Regions from separate parts of the Homo sapiens genome. Here all the other regions are linked to region 1. The links are contacts of gene promoters, found by promoter capture Hi-C in blood cells and fetal thymus (Javierre and others, 2016). All regions are on one chromosome and are shown on one strand. The core of a region is centred on a gene start or on the middle of the fragment in contact, and the rest is flanking DNA. Distances in the headings are between cores, read along the strand shown. Region 1 holds the start of SNRNP48 (small nuclear ribonucleoprotein U11/U12 subunit 48). Region 2 overlaps LOC101928004 (a long non-coding RNA gene). Region 3 holds the start of EEF1E1 (eukaryotic translation elongation factor 1 epsilon 1).

What was found. Contacts are between HindIII fragments. The CHiCAGO score rates a contact against its expected background, and 5 or more counts as called.
Region 2: a fragment that was not itself captured here is called in contact with the fragment with the promoter of SNRNP48 in region 1 in 1 of 17 cell types (total B cells); the score reaches 5.3 in total B cells.
Region 3: a contact is called between the fragment with the promoter of EEF1E1 here and the fragment with the promoter of SNRNP48 in region 1, in 5 of 17 cell types (neutrophils, total CD4 T cells, activated CD4 T cells and 2 more). The highest score is 6.5, in neutrophils.

Annotation. Positions count from the first base shown.
Region 1 is chr6:7,588,118-7,591,781 of GRCh38, forward strand. SNRNP48 (small nuclear ribonucleoprotein U11/U12 subunit 48) reads left to right here and starts at 2,081. Exons shown (of 9, transcript NM_152551.4): 1 at 2,081-2,296. The coding sequence starts at 2,141. RefSeq lists enhancers at 1,838-2,577, 2,156-2,305. The HindIII fragment of the contact is 5,411 bases long and covers 849-3,664 here.
Region 2 is chr6:6,781,682-6,785,345 of GRCh38, forward strand. All of the region lies in intron 2 of LOC101928004 (a long non-coding RNA gene), which reads right to left. Among named protein-coding and RNA genes, the nearest start is that of LINC03055, 100 kb to the right of the region's middle. The HindIII fragment of the contact is 971 bases long and covers 1,453-2,423 here.
Region 3 is chr6:8,100,652-8,104,315 of GRCh38, forward strand. It overlaps EEF1E1 (eukaryotic translation elongation factor 1 epsilon 1), which reads right to left and starts at 1,897. Exons shown (of 4, transcript NM_004280.5): 1 at 1,784-1,897. The coding sequence starts at 1,870. EEF1E1-BLOC1S5 (EEF1E1-BLOC1S5 readthrough (NMD candidate)) reads right to left here and starts at 1,944. Exons shown (of 7, transcript NR_037618.1): 1 at 1,784-1,944. RefSeq lists silencers at 1,296-1,481, 1,690-1,809, 1,950-2,149. The HindIII fragment of the contact is 8,997 bases long and covers 1-3,664 here.

The DNA.
Region 1 (3,664 bases), core at 831-3,330:
ATGTTGTCATGAAGCTCTGAGATGACATGGGGCTGTATCCTGAAGAGAGGATATGTTTGACGTGGGCTAAGTTTTAATTTGGTTCACATATACAAACAGGGAAATATACACTAGAACTTTTTATCAGGAGTCATGTCACATCAGAAATAGTCTCACATTTTTCCAGACCAACCAGCTAACTATGGAAATGCAAATAAAAAGTAAGGATACCGGGCTGGGCGCGGTGGCTCACGTCTGTAATCCCAGCACTTTGGGAGGCTGAGGCGAGCAGATCACAAGGTCAGGAGTTCGAGACCAGCCTGGCCAATATGGTGAAACCCCATCTCTATTAAAAATAGAAAAATTAGCAGGGTGTGGTGGCATGTGCCTGTAGTCCCAGCTACTCGGGAGGCTGTGGCAGAAGAATTGCTTGAACCCGGGAGATGGAGGTTGCAGTGAGCTGAGATTGCGCCACTGCACTCCAGCCTGGGTGGCAGAGCCAGACTCCGTCTCAAAAAAAAAAAAAAAAAGATACTGTAGGCAGAGTATGAATACATTAACTTCATACTCCTCTCTTACCAGCTTCTAGCCACTTCTGTATTTTATGGTGCTGCCTATTTATAGTCTTATGACTATTTTTTTAAGTGAGAACCGTGCTATTTGCCTTTAGAAATAATTGTTCACCAAAAAATTCCCCCACAGTTCCTTCACATGGGTAAACAAAGTGCAAAAGGAAACCAAGGTTTGACACTTGGGCTTGAAAAAATTTTAAAAAGTAATATAAAATGGGTTAGATTCTAGGAGTTGAAACCATTTGGGGAAACTACAAGGGCTAATTCCAGGTGTTGGGTAGGAAATGTACAAAGTTAAGCTTGTGTTATCAAAGCAAGAAAGCATTCAAGGACTAATAGGGATACATGAAAGACACAGATGGCTTAATGTGGCTTCCACTGGCCACATTTGGGACAATTTGAGCATCAACAAGAATTATGATGTTAAAGGAGTATATTATATTGAATTAAAAAAAAACCTTAAATCAATAACTTTAAAAACACCTTGATTCCCATAGTGAAGCAAACACTAAAATGGAGGTGTGGAAAGAATGCCAGTTAATAAACATAAAAGGCATGATACTATTGCGGAATCACTTATAACTCCTAATGTAACAACAGATTCAGTGAAGGACTGTATCAAGGAGTTGGGGAACAGGTTATTCTTATGGACTCAAGGTATAATCCACAGATTGCTTACCAATTCCTAAGAGGAAAATGTACTATTAGAATGAAGAGATGTAGCCACCACCTTTACCAAGTGATCAAATTTAGCATTACTAATATAACTGAGTTATGCGTCCCCGTGAGTTGGCAACATCTCTTAGGTAGTATTGCAAAAGTGCTCAAACTGAATCTAATCATGAGGGAAACAAAATCTGACAAATCCAGAATGAGAGAGATTCTACAAGACAACTGGCCTAGGCTCATCACAACATGTAATGATTTAATAATTTAAAAAGGAGGGTGAAGGAGGCTGATCTGGATTAAAAGAGACAATAACTAATTATAGCTTATGAGTTGAAAAAATAAAACTGCTATAGAAATAATTTTGGGGACAATGGGGAAATTTGAATATGAACTGTATAATAAATGATTTTATGGACTTACTAATTTTCTTAGGTTTGATCATGTATTGCGGTTACACAGGAAAATGTTCTTATTCTTAGAACATGCATGCTAACATATTTGGGGGTGAAAAATCTGCAACTTACTTTCAAAGAATTCAGCAAAAATCATTGGGTGGGGCTGTGAATGTGGAGAGAAGAGACGGAGAGAAATCAAACCTGGCAAAATGTTAACAATGAGCTGAAGGACGGCTAAACGAAAGCTCATTGTACTATTTTTAAAACTTTTCTGTAGCTATAAGCCGTTTTTTCTGAGGAAGTCGAGGAGGGCGAATATCTTTCTGGAAAGGCCAGAGCAAATGCACGCAAGAGCTGAGAAAAGATTGGAAAACGCCTCTCAAAATAACAGTCCCGCCCTTCCCGGGACTCTTCCCTATAGGCTGTTCAAGTCACGTGGCGACTGTGGCCCCGCCCACAGCTCCCAGAGGCCTGCGCGTGCGGTCTGCAGTTCGGCCGCTTCCTCTTGGCGGGTGGGCTGCAGCTATGGAGGGCGAGCCTCCACCTGTGGAGGAGCGGCGGCGGCTGCAGGAGGAGCTGAACGAGTTCGTGGAGAGCGGCTGCCGGACGTTGGAGGAGGTGACCGCGTCCCTGGGCTGGGACCTAGATAGTCTGGATCCCGGGGAAGAGGAGGCGGCGGAGGTGAGGAGCGCGGCCGCGGGGCCCTTTCGGGGACTATCGGCCCGGGGTCTTCTCTGGAAGAAGGGAGATCCGCACTGGCAGCCGCGGAGGGAAGGGCGAGGAGTCCTCGTCCGTGTGCAGAGCCGCGATGGGCGCCTGGGACCCGAGGGGCGCCGGGGGCCCTGGAGCAACCCTGACGTCCCTGGGTTCCGGGCTGGGGCGCGCGAGGAACTCCCGAAGGCTCCACATCGACCTCCAGTGCGGCGCTCCTCCCGCGCAACTTCGAGTTTAAAGAAAACCGGGGGCCGGGCGCGGTGGCGCACGCCTGTAATCCTAGCACTTTGAGAGGCCAAGGCGGGAGGATCCCTTGAGCCCAGGAGTTCCAGACTAGCCTGGGCAACATGGTGAAACCTCTTCTCTACCAAAAGTACAAAAATTAGCCGGGTGTGGTGGTGTGAGCCTGTGGCCCCAGCTATTTGGGAGGCTGGGGTGGAAGGATAGCTTGAGCCCAGGAGGTCGAGGCTGCAGTGAGCCGAGATCGCTCCACTGCATTCCAGCCTGGGCGACAGAGCAAGACCCTGTCTCAAAAAACAAACAAACAAAATCCAGGAAGGTGTGTTGAGTGAGGAGGGAATGGCAGATTTGGTATTTATTTAGAAAATAAGTGAACGTGTCTCAGAGCGCTGCAGAGGGATTGGCGGTTTGCATTGTCATCTGTCATACGGATTCCGCAGTTGCACCAGATTCGGTGTCAGGAGAGCTGGGAGTTTGCCAGTTCGCCTTTCTGTGCCTTAAAATTGGACACTTCTGACTGGGACAGCACCAATTCTAGGATTATTAAAGGTTGTCACCAAGAGGTGGTAACTGGCAACTCCTGTGGACATTAGAATTGCTTTTTTAAAAATGTAGGCAAGTGTATTTAGAGTGAACATTCGTGATTTTTGTTTTTTTGTGGGGTATTTTCGGTGGAATGAGAGGAAGGGAAGTGCTCCAATGTGGGGTAATTCATTATCTTTACTATTACTTCTGGGTTTACCATGCTGTGATAATTTCTCCTGGGTTTAAGTTACATGACTGATTCCTCAGAGGCATTTAAAATATATTTGATTTCTGTATATACCATTCATTGTTTATTGTATTAAAAGCACAGAGGAAATTAAAAAATCTTTAATATTCATTTAGAGGGGTATTTGAAGCTGGGAATTCCACTGAGTGGGGCTTACCAGACCCTTCCATACATTGTTTACTCAGCATTGCGGTAACATTGGATTCCTTGTATTAACGTTTAAATAGCACTTTGTTTGCCACTTACATTACTTCATTTAATACTCAAAATAACCCTATGAGGTAGGTATCTTTGGCCACATTTTATAGACGAGGAAAGGAACA
Region 2 (3,664 bases), core at 688-3,187, 810 kb before region 1:
CTCCTGACAGGCTGGGAATTTGGAATCACTGCCCCAGAGAAGCAAATGCTAGATAAATGCTGAATTGGCAAATTCTTCAGATGCTTTTTTATTTTTATTTTTTTAAATAAAGAACTATAGTGTCTCTTTTCAACAATTTTACCCTATGCCTGCCTCCCAGCCTCCTGGACTCCCCCACCCCATCTTTTGTGCCTTGTCTTGTGCTACTTCATCACCAACAAATTTCTCCTCAGCCTTCCAATTCCCTCCTGCAGAAGTGGACACAAATTTGCAGGAGACTAACTTTGCAGGGACAGAAAAGCCCAACTAAGCAAAACATTCTAAGCTTTCAAAAGGAGCTGGCCAGAAGCTCTTCATGTAGGAAATTTATTGCCAATTACACAATCTCACTATTGGTATCAGCAGTGGAGCACTTGAAGGGCAGGAAACCAATTCTGACTTTAAAAATAAAATCCAGAGGGGAAAAAATCAGCCTGATGCTTCTGATGCACATTAAAATTGTGTGATTTTTTTTCCTAATAGACATAATAATATTATTTCTAATAACGAAGGGGAATGGCATTATTCTCTCTTTTAGAGTGTTCAGATTTGGAATACCATTCTTTGTGTTAGGGATCGAAAATTCTGTTTGAAAGTTCTATTCCTGTCCTTTCAACCATATTCTCTTTTGCTCTTCTCTTTTGTCATTAAACAAACAAAACACCAAACCTGTGTCATCTCTTGCATCTTGAGGTCCGGAGTTCAAGACCAGCCTGGCCAACATGGTGAAACCCTGTCTCTACAAAAGTACAAAAATTAGCCAGGTTGGGAGTTCAAGATCAGCCTGACCAACATGGAGAAACCCTGTCTCTACTAAAAGTACAAAATTAGCCAGGCATGGTGGCACATGCCTGTAATCCCGGCTACTAGGGAGGGTGAGGCAGGAGAATCACTTGAACCTGGGAGGCAGAGGTTGCAGTGAGCTGAGATCACGACATTGCACTCCAGCCTGGGCAACAAGAGCGAAACTCCATCTCAAAAAAAGAAAGAAAGGAAGGAAGGAAGGAAGGAGAAAAAGAAAAAGCAATCCCACTTTGCAAACTGGTCAGTGAGAACTTCCAGGAGCAGACAACACTGCAACCTTGGTCAGTGTCAAGGCCCTGGGGTCAGGCTGCCGAGAGTCAGTCCTGACACTGAACTAGGCAAGTGGTTTAACCTCACTCTACCTCAGTTTTTTCATTGGCAAAATGGGGACAGTCAGTACACCTATCTCATGTCGGGTGAATTAAATTAAAGAATCCAGGTAAAGTGTTCGGCACCATGCCTGAGAGCCAATCCTAACTATTACAATGATGATGGGCATCGCTATCTCCTTGTGCCCCCCAAGCAATCCCAGCTCATCTCTGAGCAATTCCTCTGCTTCTCCTGAAGGGCTCTGGACAAAGGCAAAGGAACATCCTCCTCTGGGAGGGAAGCTTTGGCTGTCAAATAAATAAAATATAGAATAACAAATAATTAAATAACAATTTGAAAAAGAATGTTGACATTTACACTAAGGGTGACCTGGTCCAATTGTTACTGGAGTTTTTATGTTCCATGTGTTGTATTTTTTTATTTGCTCAGTTTATTTATTTATTTATAGAAATAAAGCATTTTAAGTTTTATTTGCAGGCTTAAAATGCCCTTTTTTTGGTCACAGAGGAAACAAGTTTGCTTCAAAATCTGATTCTTTATCTAAATAAACTCACCAAATGACTAGTTGGCATTACACAGAAGTGGCACAAAAGATAGTTGAATCTCAAGAAAATTGATGTCTCTCATTCAGTAGCAAAATCAACCATTTTGACCATTGGTAGAGAACCAAGCTAGTTGTGAATGCTCATCTCTTCACCAAGCATGAAGCCCTATCTGCCTCTGCATTTCCAGAAGGTCCCCAAGGTTTTCCACCTTGAAGGTGGGGCTCACCTGAGCCTAGGGGAACCTGCTTCTCATGTGTATGCCCTCCCAAGCCTACAGGGTATTTGGTGGTTGAGTTCTCTTCCTACAAAAACCAAAATGGTGAAGGGTCTGGGGTGTGGACCAGTTTAAAGGAAAGGCAGAGCAGAAGTGGGCTGACATGCTCATCGCATGAGCCTTCCACGGTCTATGGCATTCTTCTCATTCTTTTGTAGAATTGTCTATAGAATGAGTTTTACTTATACTGTGAGTCTAAGCATGCAATCTTGCCACTAATGCTTCACACAATTCCTACCACCCACCATGAGGTAAGAATCCCATACTCCTTCCTTAGGTTCCCAAGAACTAATAACTTAAAAAGGAAATGATTCACAAAGTCTTCATTTTACCCCATCTAGGCATGTGTGGATTGTTTTGCCTATTGCTTTTGATCTCTTTGTTAGTCTAATACTGACAAGCATTTATCTGTTCATTCACTTTGGAAATGAAGCTTGAATCTTACATGTCCTGGCTTTCTTAAGCAAGATAAAGTTAAGAAAATGCTTTAAACAAAGGAAAAGCTAACACGGTTATGGTAAAATAGAGACTAAGAAATTGACATGTTAGCACTCAGTGGTGAGATTTTACCTAACCAAATCCATCCCCTCTAAAATAGAGATAATAGTATCAGCCTGACTGGTATAGCTATTCTTGGGGGTGGGGGCGGGGGGGAAAGCAAAAGGTCCAAAACTACTTCCTAGATCAGTGGCTTCTATAATTTTATTTTATCATTTTATTTTATTTTACCAGTTTACATGGTAAAAAGTATATATATATATATATATACATCTTTACACCTTGACCGGGTGCACAGACACATAAGCTGAAACAAAAGTTTTATGAGTCAATACTTCCCTTAATTACAGGCAATACAGGATGGTATTTTCTAACTCTATTCTATTTCATTTTAAAATGTTGATGTGACTTAGTAAATAGTTGCAGCTCACAGTTTGAAAAACCATGCCCTAGAAAATTACCTCCTGTGCAGCTGTCTAATGAAGTCAAGCAGAGTGTTCTTGAGGCAAAGGCTAGCTTTCCCATTCTCACGCAGTCCCTGCTTGCACTGCTTCTGCACTGTTTCCCAAATGCCAGTGATAATATTATTTTGACACTTGTTATAAGGGTAGGGAAGACTTTATCCAAGATTACTGCAGGATGTGGTGGCTCACACCTATAATCCCAGCACTTTGGAGGGCCGAGGCAGGAGGATCACCTAGTAGGCCAGGAGTCTGAGACTAGCCTGGGCAACATAGGGAGACCCTCTCTCTGCCAAAAAAAAAATTGTTTTTTTAAAGGACTATTGCAATAGGGACAGTGCAATAAGGGAGAGAGATTGGGCTCAACTCCAAATACAACAAAGACTGCTGGGGCCAAGGAACAAGATGGGGATGATTGGATGAAAAATTACCAAGAGGACACATCAAGGGTACAGAGATTCTTGCAAAACTGACCTAACAGAATTCTTGCTAAAGGCAGGCCAAGGATATATACATCAAAAGTGAGGGATGTTAGAAATGAAAGTGTGAAAGTGCAGTGAGAAAAGAAAATGTGGTACATAAAGAACTTGATCAGATATTAAGGGTGATCATAAATCAAGGGTGAGGGATTCTTGCTAAACTGACTTAACAGGATTCTTGCCAAGACTGGGCAGTGCAGGCTCGGCAACGACTAAGACCAAGGCCGAAGCCTA
Region 3 (3,664 bases), core at 647-3,146, 510 kb after region 1:
GTAAAATCCCCAGCCAGCCTTTGTTTCCTTGCAGTTAGCTCCTCTCTTACTAACTTGCCTGTTGCACTCTTGCAACATATTTTCATACTTTCTCTAATAAATCTGCTTTTCTTTACGTACAGCTGTCCTGGTAAATTCTTACCCTGGCGCCACCAGCCCCAGAGAGTTGCTGCTCACCCACGACAGTCCATGAAGTGCTTACTATGTTGTGCTTTAAATTATTTGCTGATGATTGTTTCTCATACTAGATAATACTCATATCTTGGCAATGGTCCCTAAAAAATATAAACTAGGCCAGGCACAGTGGTTCACGCCTGTAATCCCAGCACTTTAGGAGGCCAGGGCATGTGGATCACCTGAGGTCACCAGTTCAAGACCAGCCTGGCCAACATGGTGCAACCCGGTCTCTACTAAAAATACAAAAATTAGCTGAGCGTGGTGGCGAACACCTGTAACCCCAGCTACTTGGGAGGCTGAAGCAGAAGAATCGCTTGAACCCGGGAGGCAGAGGTTGCAGTGATCCGAGATCATGCCATGGCACTACAGCCTGGGCGACACAGTGAGACTTTGTCTCAAAAAAAAAAAAAAAAAAATATATATATATATATATATATATATATATATATATATATGGCACTCTTCCAATTTAAACGGTTGCAATGTTTGTCCACTCGGCCATATATATTATATTTATACTACATATATATTATATAATATATACACTAAGCTAGGGAGTAGGGGCCGAAGGGACGGAATTATCACTGGGGCAGAGGAAACACCAAAAGAAGGCCACTTTGGCTCCAACGCCTACTCTGCCACCAATCACAGGGCTGATCTTAGGCTGAACACTTAACCTTTCTAGGCTTCAGGTTAACTTAAATAAAAACTATACTACTACTTTCTAGACAAGATCTTCACATGGACCAAATGAAGAAGAGAAAAAATTAAAGACAAAAACCAAACATCATTTGGAAAAAATCTCAAAGGAGCAAAAAAAACATATATCCAAAGTAGTCTTCCTACAACCAATTTCCTTCTCTAATACATTCCTTCTACGACAAACAACTATAAAACACAAACGTTCTAACAGTGCCTAACCAGGCAATCTCATACCTTGTGATGTTTCCCGCATTCACTGTGGGTCGTAACACTTAAACTGATAATCCAAGGCTTTAGAAACGCCTTCCCCGAATCCCCTAGATTGGGCCAAGACTCCTTAGGTGTTCTCTCTGCCATTTATGGTGCAACGTGGCACTCTTCCAATTTAAATGGTTGCAATGTTTGTCCACCTGGCCAAAAAGCAAGCTGCCTGAGAGGAGGAAGCATGTTCCCCTAAATCATCATTGTATTCCCCAGACCCAGCACGGTGCTACCTGGCACCCTGTTAGCTATAACGGAGTCGCTGCGCAATAACTGAATGAAAGGTGCGATTACGGGAAAAAAAAAAAAGCCAGTTACTGAATACATTCCAGGTTGGTCTAAGAGCCCTGTGAGGACCCTCCTCCAACTGGTTTTGTTTCCTCATAATGGGATGATGACAATTTCCCAGGAGGTGAAGTTCAGGCCAAGCCCAACCTGAGCTGGTTAACCCCTCCCTCCAGGAGGTAGGATGGCAGGGGCCGAGGCCCAGAGGCGCCAGCCGGCTAGCGGCGCAGACACGTGGGGAGCTGGGTAGCAGCATCCTCACTCCGCCCGTATCTGGTGGCCGGCCCGGGTCCTGCCAGGGCTCGGCAGGCCCCGCTCCCGTCCACCTCTTCCCCTCCGCGCCGCCTCTCCTTCTCACCTGTCGCTCGCCCTGAGCACTGTATTTATTCCCCTTACTCAGTCCCAGGGACTTCTCCAGTAGCGACAACTCTGCGGCCGCCGCCATCTTCCGGCCGTAGCTCCTGGCAGACGCGAGACCTGCAGAACAAGAACCTCCCGCATTGGTGGAAACAGAAGTCCCACTCCTGCAAACTTCAGCGGCGATTGGCTGAACGGAAGGGGCGTGGAGAGCGCGCGCCAAAGCACAGGAGGCGGGGCCGGTGGAAGGGGCGGGGCTGAGGGCGGGGTGTGAGACAGGTGGAGAAGTGATGGTAAATTTCCACTCGAACTGTTGGGGAGCTAGTTACTGGTAGAAAGGCCCCAAGGCCGGGCTTCGGTGGCTGCAGTAGACTGGATCTGGATCTCTAAATGGCAATCTATTGACATGGCTGCCAGCGGTAACTCGTTAACTCATTTGCTAGTCTAAGAGAATTTATATATGATGGGAACTGAAATTTGCCTTAGTTTGGTTCAGGAATCTGTAAATTTGAACAATCAAATTGAATAGCAAAAAGTTCACAGTCCATTAGGAGTTTCTAACGTGTAGCATAATTCATGAGGATTTTAATTGTGTTGTAGTGGTGAATTCGAAAAACTGGTTTTTCTACTGTTGATCTACAGCTCAACACTAGCAGTAGAATTATACATTTAAAGATTATTCACAGAACACGGAGTATGTCAGATAGGGGTCAAATAATTACAGCTCAAGGAAATAAGCCATTAATGGCATTAATGATCTTTTTTTGCAGTACCAGAAGGCTGGTTACATAATTTATGAAGTTTTGGTATATAAATAAACAAGGTGCATAACTTTGCCCCACTAACTTGCTACATTCTTGTATCTTCAAAAAAGAAAGAAAGGAAGAAAGAAAGAAAATTAGTAGTATATGTTGAATATTTCCAAAAGATTTGTGAAAATACAAAATATTTTCCACTTTGAAGAATGAATAAACAAAGTGTGTATTAGTCTGAGAGAAATAGAACAATCCTACAAGGTAACTCATCATTGAATCAGAAATATCAAAGTTTAGTGGGGAATGTTGTTACTGTGTTACACCTTCCCTATCCCAGAATACTTAATGAGTTTACTCTGTCAGCAGAAGTAAACATAAGGAAAAGAAACTTTTGCCAAATCAACATAACAAAATACAAAAGAAATTTCAGTATAAGTGGATTGTTAGGCACTAAATTATCTGTTTTACTTTCCATATTCAGATAATGGAATGACTATTCTACTACTTTTTAAAAGACCAACCCTCTAAGATAATTCACATATCCATTTTCAGGGTTTAGGTACACTTTTTGCTTGTAATAAAACATTTTTTAAAAAAATTAACATTTATCCAATGCCAATGGGTGGTATATTGAAAATAAGGTTTGGCCTTTGCATAATTATAGAAATATCAAATTAAAAAAGAAATCCCTAAAAAACTGAAAGCAGAACAAAGCATATTGTACATCAAATTGATGACATCATCACCCAGTGTGGACCTCTTTTAAGTGACTTTATAGCACAGTCATTTAATTGTATACTCTTAGTAAGATATGCTTTAAGGACAAAATTCATGAAAACCTGTTTTTGGTTCTTTTTGTTTGTTGGTTTGGTTAGCATCTTGGCAGTGTCAGCATTGGTATGGTGCTGTATATGTACTGTGGAATAAAGCAAAGATGCAATCATGTGGTGTTGCTGGAAAGTTGGGTGTTTGGTGTTGCCCAAAAGAGGAGTTGTAAGGTAGATGAGGTTAAATCAAAACTTTCTGGTCCTGAATTTGAATTGTAATATCAATATGAACTTATGACGCTTTTATCTTAAGGAAAATGAAAAGTATTTCCTACCTAGCTCTGTTTACTTAAAAGGCCT